2 separate regions of the Homo sapiens genome follow, and region 2 is linked to region 1. Evidence: promoter capture Hi-C in 16 types of primary human blood cells and fetal thymus (Javierre and others, 2016). All regions are on one chromosome and are shown on one strand. The core of a region is centred on a gene start or on the middle of the fragment in contact, and the rest is flanking DNA. Distances in the headings are between cores, read along the strand shown. Region 1 holds the start of FLVCR2 (FLVCR choline and putative heme transporter 2). Region 2 overlaps TMED10 (transmembrane p24 trafficking protein 10).

Region 1 (5,775 bases), core at 1,847-4,346:
TACTCACATGCCCCGAGTCAGGAAACTAAAATACCTCTTGGTCTGGGTAGACACTTTCACTGGATGGGTAGAGGCCTTTCCCACAGGGTCTGAGAAGGCCACTGCGGTCATTTCTTCCCTTCTGTCAGACATAATTCCTCAGTTTGGCCTTCCCACCTCTATACAGTCCAATAACGGACCAGCCTTTACTAGTGGAATCACCCAAGCAGTTTCTCAGGCTCTTGGTATTCAGTAAAACCTTCATACCCCTTACCGTCCTCAATCTTCAAGAAAGGTAGAATGGACTAACGGTCTTTTAAAAACACACCTCACCAAGCTCAGCTTCAAACTTAAAAAAGAGGACTCTGTCAAGAATAGAGCCCAAAAACTCACCAAACAAACAAGTAATTATGCTAAATCCCCTTGGACCCCTTTGGACACTCTCTAATTAGATGTCCTAGGTCCTCCCAATTCTTAGTCCTTTAATACCTGTTTTTCTCCTTCTCTTTTTCAGACCTTGTGTCTTCCGTTTAGTTTCTCAATTCATACAAAACCGCATCCAGGCCATCACCAATCATTCTATACGACCAATGTTTCTTCTAACAACCCCACAGTATCACCCCTTACCCCAAAACCGTTCTTCAGCTGAGTCTCTCCCACTGTAGGTTCCCACGCTGCCCCTAATCCCGCTCGAAGCAGTCCTGAGAAACATCTCCCATTATCTCTCCATACCACCCCCAAAATTTTTCGCTGCTCCAACACTTCACTATTTTGTTTTGCTTTTCTTATTAATATAAGAAGACAGGAATGTCAGGCCTCTGAGCCCAAGCTAAGCCATCCTATCCCCTGTGACCTGCATGCTTCAGGCAATCCAGATTGCCTGAAGCAACTGAAGATCCACAAAAAAAGTGAAAATAGCCTTAACTGATTTCATTCCACCATTGTGATTTGTTTCGCCCCACCCTAATTGATCAATGTACTTTGTAATTTCCCCCACCCTTAAGAAGGCTCTTTGTAATTCTCCCCACCCTTGAGAATGTACTTTGAGATCCACCCTGTCTGAAAAACATTGCTCCTAACTCCACCACCTATCCCAAAACCTATAAGAACTGATGATAATCCACCACCCTTTGCTGACTCCTTTTTCAGACTCAGCCTGCTTACACCCAGGTGAAATAAACAGCCTTGTTGCTCACACAAAGCCTGTTTGGTGGTCTCTTCACATGGACGTGTGAGACAGGATTACCAATCCTTTGTTAAACACACAGCCAGGACTGTACGTGCTTGGAAAGATGCGAGACTGGGAGGCAGTGGTCTGGCTAAAGGACGTTTGCTTTAAATATTCCCATAAATATTTGCTTCGAGTATTTGGAGACGGCATTCAGGTTCACAACCTGCCCAGCTTTCTGGATCATAACCACATTGAGATGCAAAGAATTTGAGCTTCTCCTTCCAATAAGAAAGAAAGAGAAAAAGATTAAGACATGAACTACCCTTTCTAGGCCATGGAAACTCAGAGTGAGATTTCTACTCCATCCTGCTGGACTTGGCTCTAAATCCCAGGCAAGGAGTTTGGCACAAAGCACTGCTCCCACTGTCCTGGCTTCAGCTGTGTGTAAAACAAGGTAAAAGCAGTGCCAAACACCACCAGGCATGGCTTTGCAATTCTATGCAGTAGAGGAGATACTGCACTCTAGGAAAGCTGGTTGGTCCAACTGAAAGCACTGCCAAGTTCTGATGACACCAGAATAGTCTGATGCCCAGGGGCTGCTGCCAGACAGAAGAGCATTCCTGAAATTACAGGTCTAAGTTGGTGGACTGACACAGGTTCGAGAACGACACAGCGAAGGTATAGTATGTTCTAGAAGCATGCTTTTGGCTGGGGCAAGAGCAACTGTGGATGAAAGAGCAGGTCCCCCTGCTTTTGTTTCCCGCCTCTCTTACAGCATCACAATCACTGCCTGTCACACCCAGTTACTGTCACCCAGAGTCACAAACACTGTTGGACAATCAGCAAATTATAGCCTACCACACCCAATAGTTAGGTGCAATCTAACACACGCCCCTGGGAACATTCACAAACTGTTCTACCTACCTGATTGCCAAAGACAGCCACGGAGCAGGCTGTTGAAACCTCATTAGCCCCGAACCAGACGGAAGCGATGCGGGAGGGCATGCCCAGGATGAAAACCTGGGCCACAGAGCAGATGAGCTGGCCCACCACGGTGACCGGAAAGAGATGCGGCTTCAGGCTGCCCAGCTTCACCCAGGCCCCCAGGCAGTTGAGAGCCGAGCCAGTGAGAGCAATGGTGCGCAGGCCGAACTTCTCCAGCAGCCAAGCCACTGGCAGGAGCAGAGGGATGTAAGTCAGCATGTAGCACATGGACAGCCAGTCAATGGCAAAGGCACTGACACCGTAGAAGTGCATGAAGATGTTATTGATGGAGCCGTACTGGATCCACTGAAAGGAGTTGCACATGGAGTAGCAGCTAAACACCAGGACCACGGCCCAACGGCGCCTGCTCACCTTGATCACGCTGAGGTCCTCAGGGCCCGAGCTACTGGGGTGAGCCAAGCCACTGGGTTGGGCTAAGGCACTGGGGTGGGCCGAACTGCTGGGGTGGACAGAGACGCTGGGGTTGATGGAGACGCTGGGATGGACCGAGACGCTGGGATGGACCGAGACGCTGGGGTCCGCTTGGAGTGCGGACTCCGGCACAGGGGTGTCATCGCTCTCTTCCTGGTTGGGACCTTCATTCACCATCGCCACAGTCTCCTCTGGAATCCTGGAGAAGTGGTGAGGACTCCGGCAGTCTTAAGGGACAGTGGCCTCTGCTGGTCTCTTAGAGTTGAAAGGACACTTGCCTATTCCAGAAGAAACAGAGACTAGAGGCTGCGTAAAAGCCTCAAGTGGGGCTTCCTGTGCTCACCTCCAAGCTCCTGCTCCCACTTTTGCTTGGGGCTCTCTGTTGCCACCCGCGGCGATCGCTGTCCCAAGGCCGGCCGCACACGCCGCAGCCGGCTCCGGACCGCTCCTGCCTTGGGTCTCCCCACGAGGCGTTCCTTGTGCAGGAAAAGTTCTCTCCTTGCGCAGCCACTTCGCCCGCAGAGTCCTCTCCCGGGCCAGCTTGGGGCCTCGCCCAGTCGGGCACACGTGACCGCCCCGCCCCCGTCCTGCCTGGCTTCTTCCGCCCCCAACCCCCCCGCCACCACTCCACCCCCGACCCAGTGTCTCTTGCCTTCTCGAGCCCGGTCCTCCGGGCAGAGCAGTTGTTTCGCCACAGCTTGCGGGATGCATTCCTCCCCCACGCCCCGGGCGCCATGGAAACCGCCCGGTTAACCCCCACCCTTTGCACTGCCCCTCATATTCATTTGCCACCCGCTATCAGCGGACCCTGCAAGAAGATCCGCCTTCCCGAAGTAATGCCCAAAATAGAGCCTCTCCGGTGCCTGTCCGCATGCCCTGCGCGCGTGCACCAAAGCCCGGCGCCACCTAAGTGTTCTGGGGAATTCAAGAGGGATTCCCCAACTTTCTCCCCCTTGGCTTAGGCTCCCAGCCCTTTGCTGAACTAAAGAGAGATTTGTAGATTTCCCGGGCTGGTTGCGCTCCTGGGTTAAAGGGGAGTTACAGAAAACTCGCTTTACTCGCTTCTTTCCCTGCGGACGTGGTTTTGTCTTGGGGAGGTTAGATTTGAACCTGTTATGTGGGGCTATTTTTCCTGATGGATTCTGGGCGAAGACCCTAGGGTGCGGGGGAGGGAAAGGAGAGTTTGAAGAAGCCGAAGAAGCTGTCCGCGGTTGTGTGATGGAACGCTTAGCACAGAGCTGGCTCCGGGCTTGGTCTTGGAAGCGGTCTTTGAACTCAAGCAGCCCTAGTCTGCCACCTGCCGGTCCTAGCCCATTTCAAAGGGCAAACCCTCGACTCGTTGCACTGACCTCTGTCCTTGGCGAGGGATCCTGGTAAGGAGCCCAAATTCTCCCTGAGTTCAAACACCAGCTTAGCTACAATGAGGTGCCACTGTAGACCAAGGAACTCCACCTCTCTGCGCTTCAGTTTCTTCATCTGTAAAATGGAAATGATGAAATAATAGTACCTACCTCACCGTGTTGTTCTGAGACTTGAATGAATTAATACACGAATGCACTTAGAAAATTCCTGCCACATAGTAAGCATTCCGCGAATGCTGGCTATCCTAGCAAAAAGCTAACATTTGTTGTACAGTGCTAAACAAATTGAATGCATTAGCTCATTTATGCATCACAAGAATTCTGTGATAAAGTTACTATTGCTGGCCTAAATTTTATAGACAAGAAAACCCAGACTCAGAGAAGTGAAGTAACTTCTTTCTGAAGGTCCCAGCTGGCAAGAAGAGCCATAATTCTCGTTCAAGTCTGTAATCATTCAAGCTGTAGCCTAGCTATTCAAGCACAGTCTGTGGTTAGCAGCGTGGGCACCTGTGGGAGCTTTTTAGAAGGCCAGAATCCCCTCCAGTGTTAAGGCCTTAAAAAACAAAACGGCAACCACAAAACAACCAAGAAGGTTGTCAGGCCCAACCTAGACCCACTGAATTGAAAGCTGCATTTTAACAAGATGCCCAGGAGATTCATTTGTTTACACATTAAATTTTGAGAGCTACTGGGCATCACTGCTTCTTTATTTTTTTTTTCTTTGTTAAACTTCAGACCAGAAAATGAATAACTTGAAGCTCTGGGAAGTGGCTCTCCATTTTGTCTGCACATTAGAATCATATGAAGAAACTCTTAATATCCCAAGTGTTCGGGCAACACCCCATTTAGCGATCTCCGAGGGTGGACCTGAACATCTGCATGTCACAAGCTCCGCTGGTCATCCAAACGTGCAGCCAAGTTAGAACCACTGATTCCCAGGAGAGAACTAGATTCAAATGATCACTCCCTGCTTGAAGGCACCTACTTTTTGGTAGAAACTATAGAGTCTTGGATTATAATGGAATATTTGGAGAGGGAGTTCAGACTCAGATCTAAGAATTTCTACAGTAATTTAACATCTCGTATTGTCACTATTCCTCCTGTGTTTCCCATCATTCTCCAGGGAGCACAGAACTCTGTTCTTTTAGAAGGCCTTCTGAGACCTCTCACTGCTTCTTTTCCCTCGGTCATCATGGGCCTCTTCCAAAACTCTTCATAATATATTCTTAACTTCATTTTACAGATAAGGAAACTGAGGCCTGGAGAGGCGGGTGTGTTACTCAGCGTCCTATAGTGAAATAGCATCAGAACAAGCAGCAATAAAATGGGTGCTCCTTCCACGTGGCCTTTCCCATGAGCTCTTCTGGGGCAGCCCTTCAGCTTGGTGAGAGATTCCAAGGGGTCTAACCTGGGATTCAAGTGAGATTTGGAATTGCTTTTGTGGTGGAACGAGCTGGATCTGTTGTGAGATCTGGGTTGGGTCTGCTTAGACTTGAAGCTCTGTTTTGTCATTCTTAGCTTTGGTATCTTGAGCAAGTCACTTGACCTCTCTATTCTTCAGTTTCTGAATCTATCAAATAAGGATTAAAAATACCTGCCTCCAGCCTGGCACGGTGGCTCACACTTGTAATCTCAGCACTTCGGGATGCCGAGATGGGTGGATCACTTGAGGTCAGGAGTTCAAGACCACCCTGGCCAACATGGTGAAACCCCGTCTCTACTAAAAATACAAAAATTAGCCAGGTGTGGTGGCACATGCCTGTAATCTCAGCTACTTGGGAGGCTGAGGCAGGAGAATCACTTGAACCTGGGAGGCAGAGGCTGCAGTGAGCTGAGATGGCACTACTG
Region 2 (5,179 bases), core at 794-3,293, 440 kb after region 1:
AAATAAAGCACTTTTGATTTTGATTTCTTGCATTTTATTTTATGAACCTCTGACCACTGTCTCACTTCTGCCCTTCAGAGGGTGTATCTTTGTAGATTCAGGATGTGAACCGAGCCACTTCTTTTTAGTTTGTCATCTGTGAACTAGAGCAGTTGTTTGTAGGGACTTACTGTCTGTGCAGTTGGGAGAATGCAGGCAATTACTGTCCGACAAAGAAGGAGCTATCTGACACATCTTCTAACTCCTGGGCTGTGTGTCCCACGAGTAAAATACCGCTTTGCCTAGGCGATTCTATTTGTCTGTCATTTGCTATCAATCTATATTCCAAAAACACAGCTGCCCTGGTTGGAGCAACAGCTGAAGACTTTCCAAAAGTTCTGTTTCTCTGAGTGCTCTCAGGAAGGAGGAACTCTGATTCCATGTACTAGATCCAAAGTCCTTTTTTTTTTTTTTTTTGAGACAGAGTATCACTCAGTTATTCAGGCTGTAGTGCAGTGGCGTGATCTTAGCTCACTGCAACCTCTGCCTCCCGGGTTCAAACAATTATTCTGCCTCAGCCTCCCGAGTAGCTGGGATTACAAGTGTGCACCACCACACCCAGCTAATTTTTGTATTTTTAGTAGAGACAGGGTTTCACCATGTAGGCCAGGCTGGTCTCCAACTCCTGACCTCAAGTGATCTGGCCACCTCGGCCTCCCAAAGTGCTGGGATTACAGGCATGAGCCACTGTGCCAGCTCTGTTATGTTTATCTTGCTTGTGTTAGACTAGATGGTCTTCACATTTATTGCTGTGCTCCTGGAGTTGGTGGGGGCTGTGGTGGGAGGCATGGAGGCAGCAAACTACTTTGACTGAATTTGTCTTGTCACAAGAAGCTTCTCTCTTGGATCTTGATGCTCCACCAAGGAAAAGAATTTAGAGATTCCCTAGAGGTTAGATTAACACCTCTGTTTTAAGAAGCAGTTTTTTCAGAGAATTAATACCTTTTCTTGGTACAGTTACATATAACTCTGTGAACTCTTTAGATTCAAATCTTCATTATAATGGAAGATTTGGATATGGTTTTAGAAGAGTTTAATTTTACTGGTATTTTGGAGGTGTTATACAGAAAAAGGCTTTGTAACTTGTAGCTTTTCCAAACAGTACCTACCATGACCAGTAAGAATGATGTTAATAGATATGGTGGTAGAGAAGGCTTTCTCCTAGGCGGCGGGCCTCATGAAAATAGATGCAGGCTGGGCGCGGTGGCTCACACCTGTAATCCCAGCACTTTGGAAGGCTGAGGCAGGTGGATCACCTGAGGTCAGGAGTTCAAGACCAACTTGGCCAACATGGTGAAACCCTGTCTCTACTAAAAATACAAAAATTAGCTGGGTGTGGTGGCAGGCGCCTGTAATCCCAGCTACTCGGGAAGCTGAGGCAGGAGAATCATTTGAACCTGGGAGGCAGAGGTTGCAGTGAGCCAAGATCGTGCCACTGCACTCCAGCATGGGTGACAAAGCAAAACTCTATCTCAAAAAAATAAAAAAAAGAAAGAAAAAAAATCAATGCAGAGTGCTTTTAGTATACAAGAAACACTTGCTTCAGGGGACCAGCAGCACTTAGCTACTTTGAGAAAGTTGGCTTCTTTGAAGAAGGCATAGAGTGGGCAGAACAGGTCAATTACAAGTGTTTACCAAGTCTCAGGTCTTTACGACTATATAAACTATAAATCATTTTAATTTCCTTGAGTTCAGGAGCCAAACTAGTGTGGAGGGACAGGATAAAAATAAAACAATTTGTGAATATGACAATATATGATTGAGTGTTAACTGTGTGACACAGTATGTGTTGTAGGGCTTCAGGGAAGACAGTGTGGACAAGAGTGGTTGAAGGAGGCTTTCAAGGAGGCTTGAAAGATAGGTCAGATTTGGGTACAGAGAGCATAAATGCTTTTGGAAGTCAGGGATTCTGTTCTCGAATTTTACAGCAGAGTTTGGCAGTTTAAATGCTGTGATCACCCTGGGTAGGGAGTTAAGAGACCATGGTACTGTTAATTTTGGTTGGACACCCAAAGGGCTGAGTAACTTTATGGAATCTTTAGTTTCCTCATTTGAAAAATGAGGGACTCACTGCAAAATGAAGCACCTTGTAACTATAACATCCTTTGATTATTTAACAACTACATGCAGCTTGCCAGGGGGATATCACCCCCTATTGGAGAACCTGTGGTGCACATTGTCTTACAGACTTGGCAAAACATACCTCATGCTTCCAGTGATGAAGGAGAGTAGAATAGAATACCAGCCTGCCTTCATGAAACATGTATAATTTGGCATTTTTACAGATACTCTGAACAGTTCAATCAACTGCTTACAAGAGCAGAACAACAGAAAGTGGGAATTTTGATATTGAGGATTTTTTAGCTTTTTGTACTGTGATATAAAGCCTCAATGCTATGTATTGAATGCTTAGTCCAGAGCAAGTAAAGAGCGTCTTCTTGAGAATACTTACCATGATTTGTTTTAAAATTTTACTCTGTTGCCCTGCAAAAATAATAGCAATGGGAAACCCAGGAAGTTTATTAGTCAAACTTTATTAGTCAAGCAAACAGGACAACTTATATAGATCCTTGTGGCCTAATATAGCTTGTTCATTTCACCTTTGATTCAGGAAAAACTTAGTATACTCATCTGGTTTTCTTTATTAAATTTCTAGTACTTACAGAATAAACTCACATAGACTTGGATTCTAATGCCAACTGCACCAAGCTGTGATACTTTGGGCAAATTATTTAATACCTCAGAGCCTTAGTTTCCTCATCTGCAAAACTTAAGGATAAAAATATTCACCTTATAGGGTTACGAGGATTAAATGAGATTACAAAATATACTACATTGTGAGCATATATGAATGGCTCTGATTCATTATACTACCTTTTTCATCCCCTTCCCTAATTTAGTCTCAGCCTAACTTTTGAGCCTTTTATTTGCTATTATCCCCTACCCTCCCCAAGCACAAGTGTGTGGCAGTTATGTGTGTACATGCACACATACCCTATAGTCTAGTTTCTAGCACACCAGACTACTTATGTCTAGACTATTCGTAGTTGCTAAACATGCCTGCACTTTACTCCCTCCGTGTTTTGGTTTACAGGTTCCCCTCAGCCTTGAATGCCCTCTCAAAAGTCCTGCCCAACTTGTGAGACCCAGCTCACCCACTTCCTGTTAAGCTTCACTTTGTCCTCCCAACTAGAACTGTTTTTAATGTGTATTTTTTGTTATAGAAGTTACTACATAAAGCCATATATTATGGTTATAACTTACTATATAAGCTGTGAGAGCTTAAGATCATAACTTACCTTGGTACCTTGCACATAATAAGAACTCAGAAAAAAACGTTAAGGCCTTAAAATGTTTAAAAAAAATCAAGAAACTTTTTTATATTTGTTTTAAGCTGGTAATAAAAGTCTATTGTTATATATTCTTGCAATAAAGTTTTTTTTTCTTTATTATTATTACTACTTTGTAATAGAGATGGGGTCTTGCTGTGTTGCCCAGCCTGGTCTCCAGCAATCCACCTGCCTTGGCTTCCCAAAGTGCTGGTATTACTGGCATGAGCCACTGTGCCCTGCCTGCAGTGAAGGTTTTTTGTTTTTTGTTTTAAACCACTGACTACTACTACTACTTCTTCATTTATTTATTTTTTTGAGACAGAGTCCACCCAGCCCAGGCTGGAGTGCAGCGGTGCCATCTCAGCTCACTGCAACCTCTGCCTCCCAGGTTCAAAGGATTCTCGTGCCTCAGCCTCCTGAGTAGCTGGGACTACAGGCATGCGCCACCATGCCCAGCTAATTTTTGTAATTTTAATAAAGACTGGGTTTCACCATGTTGGCCAGGCTGGTCTCAAACTCCTGGTCTCAAGTGATCCATCCGCTTCAGCCTCCCAAAGTGCTGAGATTACAGGCGTGAGCCACCACACCTGGCTAATTTTTTTCTTTTGTAAAAATAAACAGGCCAGGCCCAGTGGCTCACGCCTGTAATCCCAGCACTTTGGGAGGCCGAGGAGGGCGGATCATGAGGTCACAAGTTCGAGACCAGCCTGACCAACATGGTGAAACCCTGTCTCTACTAAAAATACAAAAATTAGCTGGGCGTGGTGGCACGTGCCTGTAATCCCAGCTACTTGGGAGGCTGAGGCAGGAGAATCTGGGTGACAGAGCAAGAGTCCATCTCAAAAAGAATAAACAACAGAAATTTATTTCTCATAGTTCTGGAGTCTAGGAAGTTCAAGATCAGGGTGCCAGTGTGGTCAGGTTCTGGTGAGGGTCCTCTTCTGAATGCATACTGCCTCCTCACTGTGTTCTCACATGGAGGAAGGCGGAATTACTTTCCTTAATAGCATTTAATTGTTAAGTCCGTCAGATTTTGGTGGTTTGAAAAGATCTTTGTTCTTTGATTTCCTCCAAATATTATTTGGATTTCTAGGTTTAGATTCAACATAGAAATATATCCATGATTGTTGTTTTTTACTATTGAGTATCCATGGTGTACTAGGTGTTTGGAATGGCAAGCTAGATTTCAGTACTGTTTTAGTCTCTTGAGATTTCTTTAAGATTTCTAGATTTTAAATTAGTATCATGAGTGAAGGTACTTATTAGGCAAAAATGGCTTCTAGGAAATGAGACCAAAATGAGACCTTCATCCCACTAATGAAGGTCTGAAAATAATTTTCTGGATGAAAGATGGGATTCAATAGATTTTTTTTTTTTTTTTTTGAGTCGGAGTCTCAGTTTGTCTCCCAGGATGGAGTATAGTGGCATGATCTTGGCTCACTGCAGCCTTGACCTCCCAGGCTCAAGTGATCCTCCTGCCTCAGCCTCTCGAAGTATTGGGATAACAGGTGTGAGCCACCACGCTTGGCCTCAGCAGAGATTTTGTTGAGGAAATAAAATCAACTTTGAAGATAGGAATTTGACTGTTTGGTTATGAATAGAGGTGTAGAGTCTGAAGTAGCACCTGTACTAGAAAAGGGGTTGGGAATTGAATGATTAACTAAACAATGTGGAATACTAGCTGTGTGGAATGCTGTGCAGCAGTTAAGAATAAGATGAATTGATAAGCACTGACATTTTTGGAAAGATCTTACTAAATGGAAAAAAGCTATAGAACAATGTGTGTAGTATGCCATTTATAAATAGAT

The links. Contacts are between HindIII fragments. The CHiCAGO score rates a contact against its expected background, and 5 or more counts as called.
Region 2: a fragment that was not itself captured here is called in contact with the fragment with the promoter of FLVCR2 in region 1 in 1 of 17 cell types (activated CD4 T cells); the score reaches 6.8 in activated CD4 T cells.

Annotation. Positions count from the first base shown.
Region 1 is chr14:75,575,941-75,581,715 of GRCh38, reverse strand. FLVCR2 (FLVCR choline and putative heme transporter 2) reads right to left here and starts at 3,096. Exons shown (of 10, transcript NM_017791.3): 1 at 2,075-3,096. The coding sequence starts at 2,743. FLVCR2-AS1 (FLVCR2 antisense RNA 1) reads left to right here and starts at 2,128. Exons shown (of 3, transcript NR_110552.1): 1 at 2,128-3,939; 2 at 5,171-5,311. RefSeq lists a silencer at 3,151-3,220 and an enhancer at 3,931-3,990. The HindIII fragment of the contact is 6,290 bases long and covers 1-5,775 here.
Region 2 is chr14:75,139,211-75,144,389 of GRCh38, reverse strand. The region is part of intron 3 of TMED10 (transmembrane p24 trafficking protein 10); the gene reads left to right. Among named protein-coding and RNA genes, the nearest start is that of NEK9, 15 kb to the right of the region's middle. The HindIII fragment of the contact is 2,336 bases long and covers 876-3,211 here.